4 separate regions of the Homo sapiens genome follow, and all the other regions are linked to region 3. Evidence: promoter capture Hi-C in human tissues and cell types (Jung and others, 2019). All regions are on one chromosome and are shown on one strand. The core of a region is centred on a gene start or on the middle of the fragment in contact, and the rest is flanking DNA. Distances in the headings are between cores, read along the strand shown. Region 1 overlaps SHANK3 (SH3 and multiple ankyrin repeat domains 3). Region 2 overlaps SHANK3 (SH3 and multiple ankyrin repeat domains 3). Region 3 holds the start of MIOX (myo-inositol oxygenase). Region 4 holds the start of ACR (acrosin).

What was found. Contacts are between HindIII fragments. The study calls those that stand out against the background at their distance.
Region 1: a fragment that was not itself captured here is called in contact with the fragment with the promoter of MIOX in region 3 in 4 of the 25 tissues and cell types used here (dorsolateral prefrontal cortex, lymphoblastoid cells, mesendoderm cells and 1 more).
Region 2: a fragment that was not itself captured here is called in contact with the fragment with the promoter of MIOX in region 3 in 2 of the 25 tissues and cell types used here (dorsolateral prefrontal cortex and mesenchymal stem cells).
Region 4: the fragment with the promoter of ACR here is called in contact with the fragment with the promoter of MIOX in region 3 in 8 of the 25 tissues and cell types used here (IMR-90 fibroblasts, dorsolateral prefrontal cortex, heart left ventricle and 5 more).

Annotation. Positions count from the first base shown.
Region 1 is chr22:50,715,484-50,720,022 of GRCh38, forward strand. It overlaps SHANK3 (SH3 and multiple ankyrin repeat domains 3), which reads left to right. Exons shown (of 25, transcript NM_001372044.2): 23 at 186-270. Among named protein-coding and RNA genes, the nearest start is that of ACR, 20 kb to the right of the region's middle. The HindIII fragment of the contact is 5,276 bases long and covers 1-4,539 here.
Region 2 is chr22:50,696,680-50,702,216 of GRCh38, forward strand. SHANK3 (SH3 and multiple ankyrin repeat domains 3) reads left to right here. Exons shown (of 25, transcript NM_001372044.2): 13 at 878-882; 14 at 885-1,036; 15 at 2,011-2,124. Among named protein-coding and RNA genes, the nearest start is that of SHANK3, 27 kb to the left of the region's middle. The HindIII fragment of the contact is 9,753 bases long and covers 1-5,537 here.
Region 3 is chr22:50,485,301-50,490,832 of GRCh38, forward strand. It overlaps MIOX (myo-inositol oxygenase), which reads left to right and starts at 1,559. Exons shown (of 10, transcript NM_017584.6): 1 at 1,559-1,612; 2 at 2,085-2,165; 3 at 2,362-2,442; 4 at 2,586-2,748; 5 at 2,975-3,042; 6 at 3,740-3,849; 7 at 3,928-3,995; 8 at 4,097-4,146; 9 at 4,232-4,344; 10 at 4,448-5,348. The coding sequence starts at 1,598. The coding sequence ends at 4,556. ADM2 (adrenomedullin 2) reads left to right here. Exons shown (of 3, transcript NM_001253845.2): 3 at 1-1,137. The HindIII fragment of the contact is 6,574 bases long and covers 569-5,532 here.
Region 4 is chr22:50,734,003-50,739,707 of GRCh38, forward strand. ACR (acrosin) reads left to right here and starts at 4,202. Exons shown (of 5, transcript NM_001097.3): 1 at 4,202-4,310; 2 at 5,269-5,472; 3 at 5,692-5,705. The coding sequence starts at 4,234. LOC105373100 (a long non-coding RNA gene) reads right to left here and starts at 4,167. Exons shown (of 2, transcript NR_134637.1): 1 at 3,388-4,167; 2 at 1,827-3,102. RefSeq lists an enhancer at 5,699-5,705. The HindIII fragment of the contact is 13,172 bases long and covers 679-5,705 here.

The DNA of each region.
Region 1 (4,539 bases), core at 1,185-3,684, 230 kb after region 3:
GCTCCAATGGGCTGCATCCTCTGCTCCCTGAGGGCAGAGTCCAGACGTGATTCCTGGGTCCAGGCACCCACAGGCACTAGTGCCATTGGAGTGAGAGCGTGGGGTGTCTCACCTCTGGCTTAGGAGGAGGACTGGGGGCCCCCAGTGCCCTGGAACCTCCATATTCCCCTCCCTGACCCCCACAGTCATTGTTTGAACGCCAGGGCCTCCCAGGCCCAGAGAAGCTGCCGGGCTCCTTGCGGAAGGGGATTCCACGGACCAAGTCTGTAGGTATGGCTGCGCTGTGGGGCTGCATGGGGTGGGGAGGAACGGGGCTGGGGCCGGCAGGGTGGACTTGGGTTTGAAGGACACTGCCTCTCTCTGCCCATAACTGGGGTTTCCAGTTTCCCTCTCAGTCCTGTCTCTTCCTGGCCCCAGCTAAAGGATCTCATACGTTGATGGACATGTGGGGATTAGGCCTTCCCCAACCCAGAGCTTTCCCCCGGCAGCCGACACTCCCTGTCCAGTGGGCACCGCCCCCCATCGCCTCATCCCTCCCATGGGCAGTCTCATCCCTGTCCCCAGCTGCCACTCCCTGTCCACTGGGCACCCCCACCTCCCCATCACCTCTCATCCCTCCCATGGGCAGCCTCATCCCTGTCCCCAGCTGCCACTCCCTGTCCACTGGGCACCCCCACCTCCCCATCACCTCTCATCCTTCCCATGGGCAGCCTCATCCCTGTCCCCAGCTCAGCTGCCTCCATCGCGGTTGCTCCCTTGCAGCCCAAGTGCATGTGAAGTTTCTGACCCTCAAACCCCCTGAACTTGCCTCTCCCCTACTTCTCCATGTATTGCTGTCTCCCCCCTTCACAGCCAGTTTTCCCCAAAAAGTCACCTCTACTGTCCATCTTGTCTCCCGTCCCCCACCGGCTCCTCAGCCTGCGGCAGACTTCCTCTCTCCATACCCAAATTGAAACTGCTCCCACCAGGGTCACCGGCGGCCTCCAGGGCCTTCCTCCCCATGGATGCATGGCCAGCACTCCTGCTGACCTCAGCTGGCATTTGGTTTCTTTGCTCCTTCTTCCGTGAAACGCTCCTCCCCAAAGCTTTAGGACAACACTTACTGGTTTTCCCCTCCTTTCTCAGATGGCACCTATTTCAACCCTGCCGCCCCAGCCTCCCAAATATGGGACCTTTTCAAGGCTGTGTCTTCAGCCTCCTTCCCCTCTGTGCCTCACCACTCCCCAGCCACCATCACACTCCACACTCACCGTCTCCTTTCCTGACCCAGATGGGGACATGTAACAAGCCCTGCCCACTGTGCATCCCTCCAGACATCCACTCTCCCGTCCCCTGCCCACCTGTGCATCTGTCCACCCACACACCTGCCCACTTGACCGTCCGTTGTCCATACAAACCCCAGCACACCTCCCATCTGTTACACATAGGAGTAAACCTCTCAGCACTTACTACGGGCTGGACACTGAGCATTTAATACTTAGAATAACCATATTGAGGTTGAGACCACTAGTACCTCCATTTTACAGATGAGAAAACTGAAGCAAGGAGGGTAAATGACCTGCCCAAGATCACACAGCTGCCCAAACTCGGATTCCTCACCTGCCTCAGGACCCTGCCAATTTGTGTTCACACAAGGCCGATCCTGGGCCAAGTCTGGGGCTTGGTTAGGGAATGTGACGTGTGCAGAGAGCTCAGCGGGCACATTGTGGGTGCCAGGGCTCACGGACCAATGGAGCCCACTGGGGGGCTCCAAGCACACCTGGTGTCACAGAAGGCTGTGTGTGTCGGGGTGGGGGTACTTTTGAGCTAAGATGTGCAAGATAAATGGGAGTTTCTGGGCGATAATGGGGTGAACTGACAGAGCAGTGTGGAAAAGGCATATGGGTGTGTGACCTGGTCCCTCAGAGACTGCCAAGAGTTATTTCTGTAGGTGGGATTGTGGGGAAGAAGGCTGGTGAGGCTGCAGCTACTTTGGAGCTGAGAAGCGCTCTCCCCTGCTCTCCCTGGCCTAAACACTGAGTGTCTTCCATGGTTTCTTTCTTATCCTCTGCCTCACCTGATGTGTCGGGGTGGGTGGCCTCACAGCCCTGCCCTGCACAGGTCTCATCACCTTGCAGCTGGACCATGGCTTTGTTCTCATGACTGCCTGCCCTGGCTCTGCCCTCTGGTCCATCCCTCTGGCCAAATCAGGCTTTCCGCAGAGCTGCTATCACCCCATATCCGTCCAGCTTGACCCTCTGTGCACTCCTCATTGCCTCAGGGCCCTGGAGATCGGCCCCAGTGCTCTCCTGCTTCATCTGGAAACATTTGTCTCTGCCTCCCTTGACCTGGGTCTTCTGACTCTTGCTGTTCCTGGGCCCGACCCTGCAGGTCTAGGTCCATGCACCTGCCCTGCAGGCCTTGAGCCACTCTCCTAGGACTGCCAGTTCTGCACTGGTCCCTCAGGCACCCTCTTGTACTCGGTTGATGGATGGGTGGACAGGTGCTCCTTTTTGGCTCCTCTTGGCCTGCTGGGCCTCAGCTGCCAGCATGCACATTGGTTGGGTTGTCAGACTCCCCAGGCCCCTGCCCCATGCCCTGGCTCTGTTGCTCTGGGCACACGATGCAGCCCTTGAAACATCAGGATTTTGATCCATAAACATGGAGACCACCTATTACCCACCTCCAAGGACCACTCTGAGTCTCCCCCGGTAGATGGCACTCACAGACCGCGTGGCATGCTGGGAGTGCTCAGCAGCTGCCAGTGTTAGTAGACGTAGATGCTGCCTCTTGAGGTTGGCACACAGTGGGTGCTCGAGAAATGCTCTCTGCTATGACCTAGGCAGACAAAGAGGGTCTGCCTCTGCCCCCAAGGGGTCCCACCCCCGCCCCAGATGGTATCAGAACAGATTCCCCATTCCATGCTGAGGCAAGTGACTTTTCTTTACCCTAAGTCAGAACTTGGCATGCTATTAGCATTAAGTTTCCCCTTATTTCATCTTTGCACGTCACTCCCGCCTTCTGCATCCTCAAGGTGCGCTCATTCTGCGTCGCTCCATCTAACACATAGGCTGTGGGTGTTCACTGCGTGTTCATACACAGTGCAGGGAATGCAGCAGGAGACCCAGGACGAACTGGGCACAATTTCTCTGTCCAGCGGTTGGGGATGGGGGGAAGGCAGACCTAAAAATCACGATGATGATGACCTCGGCCCCCTTCCCCCATTCCCAGGATACTGCTGCAGTTCAGCCCTGCACTGTAAAGGTGAAATCGCCCCACAATAGTTGCAGGCTGTCCTCTTGACATGAGGAAACTGAAGTTCCTAGAGGCTTCTGAAGTTCCTGGCAGATCTAAAATTCAAGCCTAGGTCTGTACACAAAAGCCCACCCTTGGTACCTTGGCTACAAAGAGATATTATGCCCAGCAAGAAGCAGTGTAGTACTGGAGGCCTCATTAGCACTGCGGTGGCTGGAGGAGGATGCGATCAGGAACAGGCAGTCTGTATTTTAGCGAGTTCATAAAAATGTTGACCAATCTCAGAGTGAGGCTGGGAACAGGAGCACCACGAGACCTGGGTGTGTGGGTGTGGGGCCGTCCGCCCCCTGCAGCCTCACTGAACACACCTGCAGCACGTGTGTCCGCATCATGATGTCCACAGGGGTGTTCAGGAGGTTGTGTCAGGTTCTGCTGGACAGCAGGAGCATGAGGGCCCTGAGCACTCCAGCCCCTGCACAGGACCCTAACAATGATGTCTGAGCAAGGCATGCAGAGGGGGGTTACTGAAGCTCAAAGGGGCTCAGGGCCTGGCCTGGGGTCACGCTGCCAGTAGGGGTTAAAATGAAACATGCTGGGTGCTCAGCCTGCAGTTCCATTTTGATTGATCCGTCCGTTCTTCCCTTCACCCACTCACCCATGCGGGTCTCTGGGAGGAGCCTCTCAAGGCTTCCTCCACAGGGCACCTCCTTACCTGGGTGGGCATTAGGTCTTTCTCTGCTGGAGGCCTGGCTCCAGTGGCCACAGCCCTGCTGCCCCTCACCCTGCCAGTGTGTCACTCCTGCTCATTTCCGACTATCTTCCTCTCACCTCTGGTTGCCTCCAGGGCTGGTACTTCTGCGTCGGCCTTGTTGATTCTGGGGTGGGGAGCCCTGTACTGGCCCCTCCAAGCCCCTCAGCAGTTCTGTCCCCATGTCTTGCGGGGCTGTCCCTGCCTTTCTGGGATATCTTCTCAGGGCCTGCTTGATGACCCTGGGTTTGGGCAGGTCTTGGCCCCAACCCAGGCCGTCAGAGTTTGTGTCCTTTCTCAGGGGTCCCCGGTGGGGCCCTCCTCCATCCTGTAACTGAACGCACACCTCTCTCCTGTCCTCTTCACAAGAGCCCTCCCCGTGCAGCCCTGGGCCTGGGGCACAGAGCTTGGGCATCCAGGGACCAGCCCAGACCAGGGTCTTGCTCGGAGCCCGGGCTCTGGGCTCCCTGTTTCTCCCCTGCCCTCCATTCCCCGCCCACCACGGGTCCCAACCCCATCTTCCCGAGCATTCTAGCTCCTCGCGCCGGGTTCTGCCG
Region 2 (5,537 bases), core at 2,342-4,841, 210 kb after region 3:
CCTGGTGAGTGGACAAGGGTCTGCAGCTCTCGGGAGGGGCTGAGGAAGTTCGGTGCCCCGAGGAGAGAAGTCACCCCCTGGGGGAGGCGAGGCTGGGCCCTGCACCGCGCGGGTCGCTGCGCCCTCTGTCGGTTGAGCCGGACCGGGACCCGACCCCCATCAGCCCCCCAGTATCACACGGGGCACGGCGGGGGAGTTTGGGCTGAGAGCCCGTCACTTAACAGCTGGCCCAGGGGTCAGGATGTTAGAGTAGTTCAGGTGTTGGCAACTGCGTGACGGACAGCCCACAGGAGGGGAAGGAGAGGTGCCCCGTGTGACTAGAGCGTAGCAAACTGCCAAGCCCGAGGGAGCCTGGCTCTTGGAAAAGCGGGTGGCTCTGGCCTGCCTGGGTACTAGGGAGCCACTGCAGGCTTCTGAGCAGAGCCCCAGTGGAGGAGTGAGAGCTCAGGCTCTACCCCAGTCTGGGAGTGGTCTGGGGAAGGTGGGCATCACGCAGTGGGCGTGGGCAGGGGCCGGTGTCCAGGACGAGGGGACCCAGGCCTAGAGGGGGACTGGGCACCCAGCGATCCGGGCCCTGGACCTGGAGGGGTGGGGGGGGCGCCCCTCCCTCCCGTTCACCGGCTCCAGGCGGCTTTGCTGGTGCCCGAAGCCCCCGCCCCATCCCCCGCTCCCACTAGGCTGCCCTGACCACCGTCCCGCGTCCGCGTCCGAACTCCCCCTCCCGGGGGTCGGCGGCGAGGGGAGGGCGGGAGGGAGGGCGCGAGGGCCGCCACCACCGCCCGCAGAGGGAGGAGCCCGGCCGTGGAGGAGGCGGGGCGCGGGGCGGCCGCGGCATGGAGCGAGCCTGGCGCGCCCAGGAGCTGTATTCGAATTCGAGCTCGGTTCCCCGCGCCCCCTGCGCCCCCCGCACCGCCGCCCCGGGGCCCGAAGCGGAAACTTTACAGCGCCGTCCCCGGCCGCAAGTTCATCGCCGTGAAGGCGCACAGCCCGCAGGGTGAAGGCGAGATCCCGCTGCACCGCGGCGAGGCCGTGAAGGGTGAGGGGCGCGGGGGGGCGCGGGGGGGCGGGCCCGGCGCGGGGAGGGGGCGGCGCCGCGCGCGGTGCTGGCCGGGCCGGGGCAGTGGCTCTGGGGTCTCCTCTGCCGGGGCGGCCCTGGGCCCTTGTGGGATCCCTGGTGTCACGGTGAAGGGCTCTGCCTGGGGAAGGTTCCTGCCGTGCGGGTCCCTCCGGTGCTCTGTCGTTCCGGGCTCCCTGTGTCACCACGGAGGCTCCTCTCTCGCCACGGGCGTTTCTGTGTCCCCGGGGGTCTCTGCCTGAAGGACCCTGTCCCATTACAGAGCTTCCTTGCATTGCGGGGTTCCCGTGGCACTTCTGCAGCTTCTCCATTGGAGGCCCCTGCGATGTGGGGGACCCTTGCCGTCGTGGGGTGTCTGTGACCGTCATGTGGGTGTTTGTGTTATGCAGGCTTCTGTCACCGGGGCTTCCTGTGTTCTGGGGGGATCGCGTGCCATGACAAACCCCTCTCATTCTGGGGGTCTCGGGGCCATCACTGGGCTCCTAGCCTCAGGGCCGGCTGAGGTGGAAACAGCCCAGCTGGTGCATCACGTGGCCTCACCCACTGGCCACAGCACGATGACCCCGAGCTCTCGGCAGTGACCCCTGGGTGGGTGACAGAGCCAGGATGGGGGTCGGTTGAAGGGGCTGGGGGAGCATGGTCAGCTGGGGGTGGGGGCAGCAGCAGGAGTGTGGCCCCTGCCCCTGCCTGCGCCCCTCCCCGAGTGTGTCCATCTGTGTGTCTCTCTGTCCCCCACATGCCCACCCTGTGCCGAGCCCATCTGTTCCTTTCTCTCTTCTGCGTGGATCCCAAAATCTTCCCAGGGAAAAAGCTGGGAGAAAGTGGGAAGGGAAGGAGGGAAAGGGCAGGGGGTGGGTGGGCAGAACCTGCTCCTGAGGTGGGGTAGGCGCCCAGCTCTGCTCCCCACTGACGGCCTGTCTGGCTTCTTCCTCCAGTGCTCAGCATTGGGGAGGGCGGTTTCTGGGAGGGAACCGTGAAAGGCCGCACGGGCTGGTTCCCGGCCGACTGCGTGGAGGAAGTGCAGATGAGGCAGCATGACACACGGCCTGGTGAGTGACCCCACGGCTCCCCGGGCAGCTCCCAAGGGGACCACCCCTTCCAGTTTCCCTTTGTTCTCTCTTGGTGCTAAATCCACATGGATATTCATAGAGAAAAGACTAGAGGTAAACTCAAACAAACACTCAAAGTAGATGCAAACTTGTGTACATGACACAGACACGTGTGCACACACTCTGCATATACTTGGGAACATGCGTGTATGTAACCTGACGCTTCACGTGCAGTGGAGACACATAGGACGTGTGTGACGGGGCCTCTGTCTGTGTGATCCCACATTGACTCCCAGTGACTTGCACCCCACCAGCACAGTCCTTCAGAAACACCAGGTGTGTGGAACGCATGATTCCTGCGTAGCTGGCAGACATGTAAGGAGGTCAGTGTGAGAAAAGAGGCGTTTTTCCAAAGTGGACAGATTGTCCAAGTGGGCAGAGCAGGCAGGCCCGGAGCAGCCAAGAGGAAATGAGGCCAGTTGGGCCTGGAGGTGCCCTGGTGAGTGCCCTGGGGCAGGGATGGTCTGAGGGCAGCAGGTGAGGCTGGGCTGGTCCTCAGCCTGCAGGGAGGATGTGAAGGTGAAGGCTGCAGCTCCTGGGTTGGTGAGTGGCTGCTGTCCAGCCCTGCTGACCATCTGGTCCTTTGGGGGCCCCCGGGCTGGAGCTGGGTGCGTGTCTTGGGGGTGCCCTTGCAAGGAACCCTCAGGGGTCCCGGGAGGCCCCCAGATCCATGCATGTGCTTCTGTCCTGGAGAGCTGGTGGGCCAAGCAAACCTCTCCTGAGTGATGGTCACTGGGGGCCATCGGTGGTGTGTCTGGATCAAGGGTGCATGCACCCTCCCTCTGCATGTGAAGGGCTCAGGCCTGGGGTTACTGTGTCCCCATCTCTGTGTCCCCACCTCTGAGAGTTTCCCAGCGACTCCACCCCTGTACGGCCTGGACCCCTGCCCTGTGCTGAGCTCAGCAGAGGCCCAGGGAGGCAGGAGCTTCGCCACTGACCTTTTCCTGGGCCGGTGCCCTTTCCTCCTTCCTTGGCCTTGTTCTGCCTTGCTCTGACTGGTGGCTTAGAGTGTGGAAGGGACTTGGCCCCCTGTTCTCAGCCCGCGGAGGGTGGATAGGGCAGGGTCCAGATGGGAAATGGTTTCAGAGATTTGGGCCCTGGTTCAGACAGTATGGGAGAGGGGAGGGGAAGGAGAGGTAGGGGGATCCACACCTGTGGCGGGAGCGGGTCTTGAGCTCCCCCACGTGGTGGTGAGGAAGGTTCTGGTTTGAGGACTGTGTGGAGTGAGGGGCATTTGGACCTACGTCTGAAGCTGACGGGGAGGGAGGGGGGTTTAGGCTGGAGTCAGAATTGGAGAGCAGCAAATGTTTTTTAGGTGTTTGTCATGTGCTGGGCCCTGTGCTGGGAGCCGGGATCACGGAGGCTCAGCTGGAAGCCTTGTGGGAGCAGTGGCTGTGACGGGGGCCGTGTGAGCGTGGGAGCTCCCTGGGCTGGCCTGAAGGAGTCAGAGAGGGCCTCAAAACAGAGGCATTGTCTGAGCTGAGTCCTCTAGGTGGTCAGCGGCTGGGGCTGAGGGGACAGCCGTGTGTGCAGGGTCCGTGTGGCGCTCTACAGCTGTGTGTCAGCACGGCCTGCTCTGAGTGCCTGGCACAGTTTTAGCACTTCTACACGTATAAGTCGTTGACTCATCCCAGCAGTCCCAAGAGGTGGGGCCACTTGTTGTTATTCCATTTCTAGGGGGTCACATGGCCCTGAGGGGCAAAGTCTTGTTTGCAACACAGGCAGCAAGTTCTATGTGAGTGAAACGCCTGCATGGGGTGAGGGGCGAGGCTGGTGTGGGGACCACGGGGTGGTCAGGTGGCATGGAGTCAAGTGACAGTGTGGCATCATGGCGGAGGGAACCCAGCCGCAGTGTCTGATTGTGCAGGTTGTGTAGGATCAAAGCCCGGGCTGGGCAGAGCAGAGCAATGGAGAGGAGGGTTCAGGTCTGGGCTCCAGCCAGCAGCCATGGTGTGTGTGACCTGGGGAGTGAGTGTCAGAGGTCCCGGGGTAGACGGGAGTATTTCATGAGTGGGCAGCGGGAGAGGGACCTGCGGAGGCTGCCTGCGAAGGGCAGGGAGTGGGAGCAGTGACAGTGCCCTCTGACCTTGGCTGCAGGCCCTGCTGGCCACACTGCGCAGAGCCTCTGCTCTGGGATCCCGGGGCCGAGTTCTGCCAGAGGCCAGAGTGCAGCCCAGGAACAGGAACCTGCTTCCAACAGGCCCAGATCTGCTCCCCCCACCCCCCAAAAAAATCCATTTCCGGGACTGGAGTGGGGACAGAAAAGGACTTAAAGGTTAGGGAGGGGACATAGTCCCTGTGCGTGCAGGGGCTGGTGCCCAGAGCCGGTGCCTGCTGTGGGATCGGGAGGCGAGTCCTGGTCACTTACCCAGCAGAGAGCAGTCTCCCACGGCACCTCCTGGCAGGCAGAGGGTGGAGCTGTGAGGGAGGGAATGGAGAAGCGAGGTCAGGTGTGTTCTGGAGGCCCAGCAGGAGCAGGCCCTGTGCCTTCCCTCCCCTCCCTCCTTCCCTTTCTTTGCAGTAAGGTCAGCACTTGGGTGGGTAGTAGGAGATGGCTGTGTTGGGCATTTTCTCTTCAGCTGGCTTTTATGTGTCTTATTAACAAAACTGGAAAAATGAGTTTGTGTTATGTAATCCATACAATTTGTTTGGTTGACAACATCTGAAAACAGGAGGCTGGTCAAGTGCAAGTGTGGCGGGTTCTTCAGCAGGCAGCACCATGACACTTCCGTGCCTCTGTCGACGTGGAGAAGGGTGTGATGGAGGAAAGGAGGGGTCTGATGCCCCACCTGAGTGGTGATGAGGCTTGGCCTGAGCTGGCCTTAGGTTCAGCGGGATGAGGGGTGCAGGTGTGGTTGGGGAATGCCAGGATAAGATATAGGTCATCAGAACCAAGGGGATCCTCCAAGTTGGATTTCTCTATTCTATATGGGCGGGCTTAGAGGGGGCTGTTGACTTACTGAGAGTCACACAACGTAGTAGCTGGGACCTGGAATCCAGCCCGATACTTTTTTGATATCTGTGCCTTCTGATAGAAATAGGCACTCTTTCCTCTTTCCGTCCGGCCACTGCTCCACCTATGTTTACAGCCATCTATCCTTTGACTCACCCACCCATCCCACCATCATCTTCTTAACCGTTGACTCACCAGCCAACCCAATCCACCACCCCTCCCTTCCTCCATCCATCCACCTCTCCACCTACCTGTCTACACACCCAGTCCATCCATCCATCTACCCATGTATCTGTCTGCTCTTTGACCTATCTACCCATGGCCCTCTCCTTCCCTCCCTCCATCCACTGGTCCAGTGCCTTTCAATCCACCCTTCTGTCCGTCTATCTCAGATGCACCT
Region 3 (5,532 bases), core at 309-2,808:
GGCGCTGCTGCACTCAAGCTTGGATGACAGAGCAAGACTCCGTTTCAAAAAAAAAAAACCTCCTCTCTTCCTTCACACCTTCCTCTGAATCCCACCCGGTCCCACCTCCTGAACCTATCCAGACACCTTCTCCTGACCCAGGCACCACCTGCTTTCGGGGCGATGGCCGTAGCCTCCTCCCAGGCACCTGTCTGCATCCCTCTGGCCAGTGCATGCTGAGCACGTGACCTACCCGTGTTGGGACACGTGAGGATACAGCCTTGACCCCCAGGGGCTGACATTCTAGGGGGAGATAGAAGGAGACAAACGTAGAAGGTAGAATAAGTGGGTGGTGGAGTGGCAGGGAGTGCTGAGTGCCACAGGAAGTCAGACAAGGAAGGAGAGTGTGGGGCAGGTGCCGTTTAAATGGGGGGCGCTGGGGTCTCCTCACAGTTGCTTCTCAGCTCAGCTGTGCCAGGATCTTGTTGAGTCAGGTCAGCTGCCCACAGCCCTCTTGCCTGACCCCTGAAGCCCAGAACTCTGATCTTCACAGCCCTAGGTATGGCCCCAGCACCCCACTGCCCTCTCTCCTGCCCCAGCCGACTGCTGTTCCCAGACTTCCCTGGCCACGCTCCAAGACGCCAGCTCTGCCGCGGGCACTTTGTTCTCACGGTGTCCTCCATGCCTGCAGGGCCCATGCATGGGAAGTTGCGTTGGCGGCCTGGGTGTTGGCGGTTCCGTGCCTGCTCCAACTCTCCGTGAGGCCCCTCTCCCAGAGCCTGACACACTCTGTGGCCGAACTCTAGGCAGGTGCCCCTGAGTCCTTTCCTCGACGAGGCCTGACCCCATCCCCATCCTCGCTGGGCCCGCCGACCCCGGTGTTAGCAAGAATCCTCTAAATCAGTTTATGGAGAATTACCCACCCTCGATATCTGATCCCATTCCTCATCTCCCACCCTTGATCTCATCACCCTGCCGGCCTCCTGCAAGATCCTCATTGAGCCACTCCAGTGAGAATCCCCCTACCCTCGAAGGCCGCCCTAACAACTTCCCATCCGCTGACCCCTCCAACGCCATCAATCTCCAGCTGTGGTTGTTGAACTCGGAGGTGAGCTCCTCTCACCACTCTCTTGAATAAAGCTTTTCTCACCATTTTAACAAGTCCTCAGAATCATCTTTTCTTAACAAGCTCCTGCCCCACCCAGAATCACGGGGGGCCTGGGGACAAGTTTTCACCTCCTGAGATCCAGTGGGGCAGCCGGGGAAGGGGTGGTGCAGAGGGGGCGTGTGCTTGAGGGTGGGGTCTTGGGTCTGCCCCTACTTGTGGGACCCCACAGAGGGGTCTAAGGCCAGGGCCCAAGTGGGAGGCTGGGCCCACAGATAACCCTAGGCAGGTCAGCGGCTCGGGACAGGAGTGTGAGGCTGAGTCAGGGCCAGAGGATGTGGGACTGCTGGGGGCTGCTGCTGTGCTGACACATTAACTCCCTGAGGCCGGGAGGAGGGTGGATGGTCATTTATTACTGCGGACACTTATGTAACCTGGGGTGTATATAGGAGCCTGGCTGAGGACACACTCGCCAGCCTGTGCTTTGCCACCTGAGCGCCGCTCCCTCTCAGGATGAAGGTGACGGTGGTGAGTACCCAGACCCCATGCAGAGAGGCTCTGCTGACTGCTCTCCTGGTGGCCAGCCACTCCCGCCCTCTTCTAGCTGGCACTGGCCAGCCCTCCTCCTCCGTCCAGCTGGGCAAGAGCCAGCGGCTGCCGACCCCCAGGCTCCCTGTGGACTCAGTCTCCTCCCAAAGCCACTTCCACCCCTCAAGGGTGGCCATGGGTGCCGCTCAGGCGTGGTGTCCCCTGTACCCCGGAAGCAGACGTCTGCTGACTTTCGCTTTGCAGATGAGGACCTGGGAGTGAGAGCTCCTGGGACTCGCTGAGGCCAGGGCAGGGGCTGGGATGATGGCGTGGGAGAGGCTGTGTCCTCGCGTGTCACCCACCAGCCCTCGAGCAGAGGCAGGCTTGGAGTCTGCAGCCACCCTGGGAATGTCTGTGCTTCCTCGTGGAGCTGACATGATGGTGAAATAGGTTCAATCCTCCACCTACCCAGGGCCCAGACCCTTCCCTGGTCTACCGACCTGATGTGGACCCAGAGGTGGCCAAAGACAAGGCCAGCTTCCGGAACTACACGGTGAGTACCTTGCCGTCCTGCCCCCCTTCTCCCCCATCCACACCCTGGGGAGCAGCACTTGCCCTTCACACAGTTCCAGGGGGTGCCCTGTGGGAACTCCCACCCCCATCACACCCTGTGGGGCTGCCTGGGAGAGGGGAGGCATGGGGCCTCGTGTGCAGGGTGGGGGTGGCGCCACTGACCCTCCGGCCTGCAGTCAGGTCCCCTCCTGGACCGTGTCTTCACCACCTACAAGCTCATGCACACGCACCAGACAGTGGACTTCGTCAGGAGCAAGGTAGGCGTTTCCTGCCGCCCCGTGCAAACGCGGAGGGACCCTTGCCCTCAGCCCCATGAGCCCACCAGGCGCCGAGGGGATGGAGAGGCCTGTGTGGTGGGCCTGCTGACCCTGGGCCACACTGCCTTCTCCTTCCCCGCCAGCATGCCCAGTTTGGGGGCTTCTCCTACAAGAAAATGACAGTCATGGAGGCCGTGGACCTGCTGGATGGGCTGGTGGATGAGTCGGACCCGGACGTAGATTTCCCCAACTCCTTCCATGCCTTCCAGACAGCGGAGGGCATCCGGAAGGCCCACCCAGACAAGGGTGAGCCCTGGCTGTGCTGCAGGGGGGCAGGTGCTGCCTCCAAGGGGCAGAATGCAGCAGCCTGTAGGGTGGGAGGGGACAGTAGTGGGCCCAGGCCTCCTCCAGCAGCCCTGCCTGGGTTGGGGAGCAGGCCCTGGACCCTTCCTGGCTCTCAGCCCCGCAAACCTGCTCATCCTCTGCCTTGGCCCCTGCAGTCCCCAACCTGCCCTGTCCATCCCCCTCCCAGACTGGTTCCACCTCGTCGGGCTCCTGCACGACCTGGGGAAGGTCCTGGCCCTGTTCGGGGAGCCCCAGGTAAGAGTTGGAAGTGGAGGGTGAGGAGGCTGCATGTTGAGGCAAGGTGGGGGTGGAGTGGCCTTGGTGCTTGGCCTGGGATACTACCTGGGGGACAGGCCAGTGCACCCCCCACGGCCCCCCGACGGCTGCCTGTCCCTCTGGTGGCCTCGGTGCTTGGCCTGGGATACTACCTGGGGGACAGGCCAGTGCACCCCCCACGGCCCCCCCCACGGCTGCCTGTCCCTCTGGTGGCCTCGGTGCTTGGCCTGGGATACTACCTGGGGGACAGGCCAGTGCACCCCCCACGGCCTCCCCGCACCACTCCCCCCACGGCCCCCCATGGCCGCCTGTCCCTCCTGTCACTCTGCAGTGGGCGGTCGTCGGCGACACCTTCCCCCACTTCCCCCACGGCCCCCCATGGCTGCCTGTCCCTCCTGTCCCTCCTGTCCCTCCCATCCCTCCCGTCCCTCCTGTCCCTCCCGTCCCTCCCATCCCTCCTGTCCCTCTGCAGTGGGCAGTCATCGGCAACATCTTCCCCCACTCCCCCCATGGCCGCCCGTCCCTCCTGTCCCTCTGCAGTGGGCAGTCATCGGTGACACCTTCCCCCACTCCCCCCATGGCCGCCCGTCCCTCCTGTCCTTCTGCAGTGGGTGGTCATCGGCGACACCTTCCCCCACTCCCCCCATGGCCTCCCGTCCCTCCTGTCCCTCTGCAGTGGGCTGTCGTCGGCGACACCTTCCCCGTCGGATGCCGTCCGCAGGCCTCCGTGGTTTTCTGCGACTCCACCTTCCAGGACAACCCTGACCTCCAGGATCCTCGATACAGGTGCTCCCTGCTGCTGAGGGCTGGGCCCCCTTCCCTGGGCGGCTGCTGAGCCCTCCTCACCCTGGTATCTCACTGCAGCACAGAGCTCGGGATGTATCAGCCCCACTGTGGGCTCGACAGGGTCCTCATGTCCTGGGGCCATGATGGTGAGGCCAGAGGCGGGCAGTGGGGCGGTGGGGGGCGGTGGGGGACGGTGGGGGGCGGTGGGGCAGAGGCAGTGCCTGCTGGTGACACCCTCTCCCCACAGAGTACATGTACCAGGTGATGAAGTTTAACAAGTTCTCACTGCCCCCTGAGGTAGGTGGGGGGAGGGGCAACGCAGCCCGTCCACCAGGCCCGGTCCTGCAGCCCCAAGTGAGCCGCTGGGTGGCCTTGCCCGCAGGCTTTCTACATGATCCGGTTCCACTCCTTCTACCCCTGGCACACGGGCCGCGACTACCAGCAGCTGTGCAGCCAGCAGGACCTGGCCATGCTGCCCTGGGTGCGGGAGTTCAAGTACGCCCCGCTACCCGCCGAGGGGTGTTGTGGGAGTGAAAGAGGGGGTTGGGTGGGGGGCCTGGGGGTTCTTCACGGGGCTCACCGCCCCTCCCTGCTGCAGCAAGTTCGACCTCTACACCAAGTGCCCGGACCTGCCGGACGTGGACAAGCTGCGGCCCTACTACCAGGGGCTCATTGACAAGTACTGCCCTGGCATCCTGAGCTGGTGACCCTCCTGCCACCCAAGCTGCTGCTGGACCTAGGCCTGGCCCTCCGCCTGCCTGGAGAGGCCTGGCCCTGGGCAAACAGCCGCCATCAGGGTTCACCTCGGTGGGGGACCCCACTCACCCCCTTAGGGTCGCCACCCCTCACGGCAACTTGTGCCTGGCGTCAATAAAGACCTGGAAGGATGTTGTGCTTCTGAAGCCCCACTGGGTGTTACTGCAGCAGGGCGTGGCCCAGGCCGAGGGATGGTGCCAGCAGGGTGGAGGCCAAGTCCCAGGCTTTCAGGTGTGTGTGTCCCACCACACTGGCCGTGGTAAACATCTGCCCATCCTCCCAGCTCCTGTGTCAGAGCCTGGGGGACGAGTCACCCAGCTCACCCCCACATGCTCAAAACAGTCACCAAGTCCTCTGGGCTCCGTCCCCTTAAAAAATACCCCAATAGCTAAAATAATACATTCATAGAAAACAACAAAAAACAAATGCAGGCTGGGCACAGCGGCTCACACCTATAATCCCAGCACTTTGGGAGGGCGAGGTGGGCGGATCACCTGAGGTCAGGGGTTCAAGACCAGCCTGGCCAACATGGTGAAACCCCGTCTCTACTAAAAATACAAAAATTAGCCGGGCGTGGTGGTGGGCGCCTGTAATCCCAGCTATTCAGGAGGCTAAGGCAGGAGAATCGCTTGAACCCGGGAGACAGGGGTTGCCGTGAGTCAAGATTGTGCCACTGCACTCCAACCTGGGTATCAAGAGTGAAATTCCATCTCAAAAAAAATAAATAAAATAAAATAAAACAAGTGCACAGTTTAAATGCTATAAAGCAAACACCTGCGGCCACCACCCCTGAACCGACTCTCCAGTACCCTCCGCATGCCCCGGGTGCGGCTCCCCGCACAGAGCAGCCCCTCCACAGGCTCTGCAGCCACCGTCCATCCTCTCTACATGGTTTTGTCACCCAGGCGTGCAGCCCTTGGTGCCAAA
Region 4 (5,705 bases), core at 2,952-5,451, 250 kb after region 3:
GTCTGCACGGCCCTGGTGCTATCTCAAATTAGAGCAAGTTGGTGCTTCTCACCTTGGGTTGTCTGCCCAGTTGGATGTGAGGTTTCCTTTTTGCTCCCACCCTGAGCACCAGAGACAAGACATTGTCCTTCAGGAGCGCACAGGCAGTCATGTGAGCAGCCGATAATGTGGCAAAAAAGACACGTCCTGGGTGGCACCTGGTGGGGGTGGCCAGCCAACAGGAGGGACAGAGACCCCTCGCTGAGTGGAAGGAGGTGGTGAGCTATGTCTTGAAGGGCAAACAGTAAGGCAAGTGGGCAAAGGCAATCAAGAGGGAGCCGTGAGAAAGTAGAGGGCACAGGACCCAGCACTGAGGCCAGGGGCTGCAGAGATGTGACGTCCCCGGTGGGGAGGGTTGCTTACAGGAGGGGCAGTGGTTTCAGAGCCTGGACACACTGGGTTGAGGAGGCGCGTGAATATGACAGAATGACAATCGCATACCTTGGCTCTGTGGTTAACCTTAGCCAGGGGTGGGGCCGGTGGCACCGTGGAGAAGTGCCACTAGCCCCAGACTCTGAGTCCCCATGGAGGCCTAGGGCTCCATGTGCAGCCCAGGGAGACCCACCCTCCCGATTCCACACACTCAGGCCCAGAGCGAGTCAGGGGCCCCCTGCTCCCACACTCAGACCCTTGCAGGGCCCCCCTCCTTGACTTCCCGTGCAGCCCTTTCCTTATGATGGCCTCAGTTTCTAATCTGAAAATAAGATGAGGATTAGGAAATGTTGAAAATTTGAAATTGTGTGGCCTCTGCTCTTCCTGTGGGCTGGCACCCCCCAGCCACTCCCAAGACCTGTGGACAACTTTGGGGCAGGGCCAGGACATGGAGGCTGCTTTTGTTTTGTTTTGAGACAAGGTCTCACCCTGTCACCCAGGCTGGAGTGCAGGGGCATGATCGTGGCTCACTGTAGCCTCAACCTCCTGGAATTGAGCGATCCTCCTGCCTCAGCCTCCCAAGTAGCTGGGACTGCAAGCGTGGGCCATCACACCTGACTAATTTTTTTTTTATTTTTTATGAGATGGGGGCCTCATTTTGCTGCCCAGGCTGGTCTAGAACTCCACCCTCCTTAGCCTTTCAAAGTGCTTCGATGACAGGTGTGGGCCACCTTGCCCAGCCTGAGGCTGGTTTTCAAGCTGTCATCAACCATAGCCTCAAAGGGCCTTCGTCCTTCTCCATGGCGCCACCCAGACCCTCACCTGCTTGCTTAAACCACCCCCGAGGCACCTGCTTCCCCTGGGTGAAGACCTGAAACCTACCCCTTTTCGGCCCTCAAGGTTTCACTGCGTCAACCATTCTTACTCCCTCTGGGATCTTCTTGCCTTCCTGGCTGGCTGGACATTGAGGATGGTTGGATAAGGTTTCTGCTCCTCACGGAGGGTGGTGGGGACAGGAATGGAAAAGTAGGGGATTGGGGGCTGGAAGGGATTGGAGATCAGGGTGAGAAAAACTGGGGTGGGAGTTGGATTGCCCAGGTAAATAAGGCATGGGGACAGAAGTGGGCACGGCTGGCGAAGGCAGCGGGTGGTTGGGGTGAGCAGGAGCAGCGAGAATGGCTGGGATGAGCTGGAGGGGTGCCTGGGGGTCAGGGTGGAAGCAGAGAGCAGGGAGGAGTTTGAGGGGAGATGGGGAGCCCCCATCCTGCCCCCTGTGCTGAGCACTCTGCCTCAGCCTGAGCCATGCCCTCGGATGGGACCCCACCCTCTGGCCCCAGACCTGTCACCCATTTCTCCTTCGCTCTTAGAACAGCATGAAGAAGGTCAGACAAAGTCACTCTGAGTTGAGATGTTTGTTGCTTCCATTAGTTTAATGACAAAATTAAATGGGCCGGGCCAGGTACTTTTCCCGCAACCATCACTATAGCCACGGGCAGGCACGATGACTGGCAGCCCCTTCTAGAATCAGAAGTGGGTAAGCTTTGCGGAGTCAAACTGTAATGGTCTTCTAGAATCCAGACACTGACATTGGGTCTTCAGACTTTTTTATTGATACCTCCTAAATATTTGTAAAGAAATAGGTGCTATCCATTAAAAACACCCGAATAATATTTTCTTTAACAGTCAAAACTTTAATCTTCTTCTTTTTTTTTTTTGAGACAGGGTTTCACTCCCATTGCCCAAGCTTGAGTGCAATGGTGCGATCTCGGCTCACTGCAACTTCTGCCTTCTGGGTTCAAATGATTCTCCTGCCTCAGCTTTCTGAGTAGCTGGGATGCAGGTGCCACTGCACCTGGCTAATTTTTGTATTTTTTGTACAGACGGGGTTTTGCCGTGTTGCCCAGGCTGGTCTGGGGCTCCTGAGCTCAAGTGATCTGCCTGCCTCACCCTCTCAAAGTGCTGGGATTACAGGCATGAGCCTCTGCACTTGGGCCCACTTCTTCAATTCTTCTTGCCATTTCTTGAACCATATTTCCAAAGTCTTTTTCTGGTTATTTATGAGACACAACTTGATGCTCAGTTAAAATAAGTGAGGTCCGCTAACACTCAGTAGTGCAGCTGAAACCTATTCACATTCAAGTCACGAAATAGAACTTGTATGCCCTTCAGCTAGAGGAAGTGGGGCTACCTGACATAAAGGTAGAAAAATCCCCTGACACTCGGAGGAGATAAAGTGTCATGACTTAGATAGGGCATATAGGAGATAGGAGGTTTCATGACTCTCAGGTAAGGGAGATGAGACCTCCAGACAACCAGGAAGAGGTGAGAATACCTCCAGACCTCAGGGGGTTGAGATGAGAACTTTGGACACCCAGAATAGAGGAGATCTCATGATACTCTAGCAGAGGAGATGAAAGCTCCATGCCATTTAGACAGGGATATGAGACTATATTCAAGTAGAGGGTAGGACATGCCCTGGCACCCAGATGGGGGCAATGAGATCTCCCAACACTCTGGTATACCGGTGGAGACTTCAGAACATTCATATAGGTAAAATACAACCTCTTGACATTCAGCTGGAAGATGTAAGACCTCTTGATTTTCAGGTAGAGAAAGTGCGACAGGGTGACACTTGGGTGGTGGAGGTGAGAATTCTTAACCTGTAGGTGGAGGCGATGAGGGCCTCTGGCACTGAAGTGGAAAAACAGAGTTGTTATTTCTTTCAAAGAAGGAGGTGATCACTCCCTGATACTGGGTAAGATATACGAGACCTATTGAACATTCATTTGAGGATGTCATAAGTACGACATTCAGTTAGAGAAAATAGATAAATCAAGATCATCTGATAATCTGAAAACTCAACACTCAGGAATAGGAGATGAGATGTCCTGACACTCAGGTTGGAGGCATGGGACCTTCTGACACCCACTTAGATGATGTGCAACCTATTGACCCTCGGGCTGGTTGAGATCTTACATTCAGGTAGAAGAGGTAAGGCTGCCCTCATGCAGGTAAGAGTGTGACCTCCTGACACTTGCAGGCGATGGGAAATGTTTTAACATTCAGGTGTTTGCAATAAGCATTTGTCACACTCTGGTAGGTGAGATGCTAGTTCCTGATGATCAGATGGGAAAAATGATGCTTCATGATATTCAGGTAGCTGTATGAAAACTCTTGACATTCAAGTATAGGAGAAAACACCTTGCTCCACCTCAGTCACAGAAAGCCGATCTGGAGACATTCAGGATAATAGGAGACCTTGTGATATTCAGCAACGGACAGGAAGGTGGGCTTTGCAGTTGTAAATTAGGAAAATTCAAAATGACTCTTGGAAAAGTGTGTTGATAGCATTCACTTGGAAGAGGAAAAGAAAACTTCCCCAACAACAATTAAGGATCAATTAATCTGCTGACCCTGACTCCTCTGATCCACAAACATGTTGCACCGTCTCATCACTGAAGGGCTGAGCCGCTCCTCAGTCTGTGAGTCTGCAGTGGTCACAGCACGCATGAGAGGCAGACTCTGAACCTGCACAAAGCCAGAGCCTTGGGTGATGTGGGGACCTCGCAAGAGTTACTGGGAATGGAGATCCTGGCCTTGGGACAGAGGGAGTGGGGCTGCACAGGAGTCCCCCATCATCCTGGTGGTGGGGGAGCCTATGCAGGAAGTCAAGAAGTCTCTTCAGCACAAACCAGTTAAGGCGAGGGGCTCTTACCTGGCCTGACTGCTGGGGGTGGGGTGGGGGTCACCCCTGCTGATTGGCCAGGCAGCCACGGAGCTTTGTGAGGTCACTAGGCTTGCAGGCCAGGCAGTGCCAGGAGTATGGTTGAGATGCTACCAACTGCCATTCTGCTGGTCTTGGCAGTGTCCGTGGTTGCTAAAGATAACGCCACGTGTGAGTAAGTGTCGGGGCACCTTGGTGGGGGAAGGATCTTCTGAGGAGCAGGTACCACCCCGACTCCCTCTGTCCAGGGCTAGGGAAAAGGAGGCTGCATCCCTAACCTGGACCCCCCCTGCTCCCAGAATCAGCAGCCTGGAGCCCCCAGACCCTCAGCTTTCGTGGTTTCCTCCAGAGATGGACCCCTCAGCACCTCAGGCTCCTTGTGCCTCTCCCACTCCCCCAGGGACTGACCCCACTGTCTTGAAGACATGAAGTCCTGATTTTGGGAGCCCTTATCCCCCCACAGACAGCTGTCCCAACCCGTGGTTGCCCCCAACAGCCCCAGGATATCATCGCTTCACACCGCTTGCACCCCTACCCCCCAGTAGGCTCTCTCACTCCAAGGTACCCCGAAATACCAACACCTCCCAAGCTATATGTGGCCTCCCACCCGTGACACAGTTCCCAGAGCCTCCACCTCTAGACCTCCACTGCTCTCAGTGTGCCCCCTACACCTGTGGGCCACAGTATCTGCCCCTGGCTGCTATCCCTCCTCCCATCACTGTCAACGACCCCCTTCATCACCTGACTTCCCTGAGTCTCCCACCCAAGATTGGTTATAAGGACCTCAGGCCATTACACCCCTCTGTCCCCAGGCCCCGCATCCCCACCTCTACCCTCCTGTTCTGCCCAGGGACGGGCCATCCCTCAGGGCCCATGCAGCCTGTCCTGGCTTCCTATGGCCTCCTCTTTCTCCATCTGTGACTGCACCCACAAGACCTGAGAAGTCGTGGCCCCAGAACCATTTCCTAGAGCCTGCGGCTTCCTACATAGCGCAGGCTGCCCCTGCTTTCCCAGAACCCGGAAGCTCTTCCCCACTTTTCCCAACCCCATGTCCCTGCCTCCCCTCAGTTGTGGAGTTACAAGGACAGGCTGTGCTCATGCCAGGTTTGAACTGTGCTCTGGTCTCTCCCCAGTGGCCCCTGTGGGTTACGGTTCAGGCAAAACCCACAGGGTGGTGTCCGCATCGTCGGCGGGAAGGCTGCACAGCATGGGGCCTGGCCCTGGATGGTCAGCCTCCAGATCTTCACGTACAACAGCCACAGGTACCACACATGTGGAGGCAGCTTGCTGAATTCACGATGGGTGCTCACTGCTGCTCACTGCTTCGTCGGCAAAAAGTACGTGTAGGGATGCACTGAGGGAGGTCTTCAGAACGGCTCTTCTCAGAGAGGGGCGTTCCCCGGGGATGCTGTGCAGCGTCTCCCTGGGGCTCTGGGCCAAGTGGCTGCAAGACTCCGGGGGCTGGTCCAGACCTTTGCTAGGGGAAGGCCCTGAGGGTCGCTGTCACCAGGCTTTTGTCCAGCCGGTTGTGACCTGGCTTACCTTTGTGCCCACAGTAATGTGCATGACT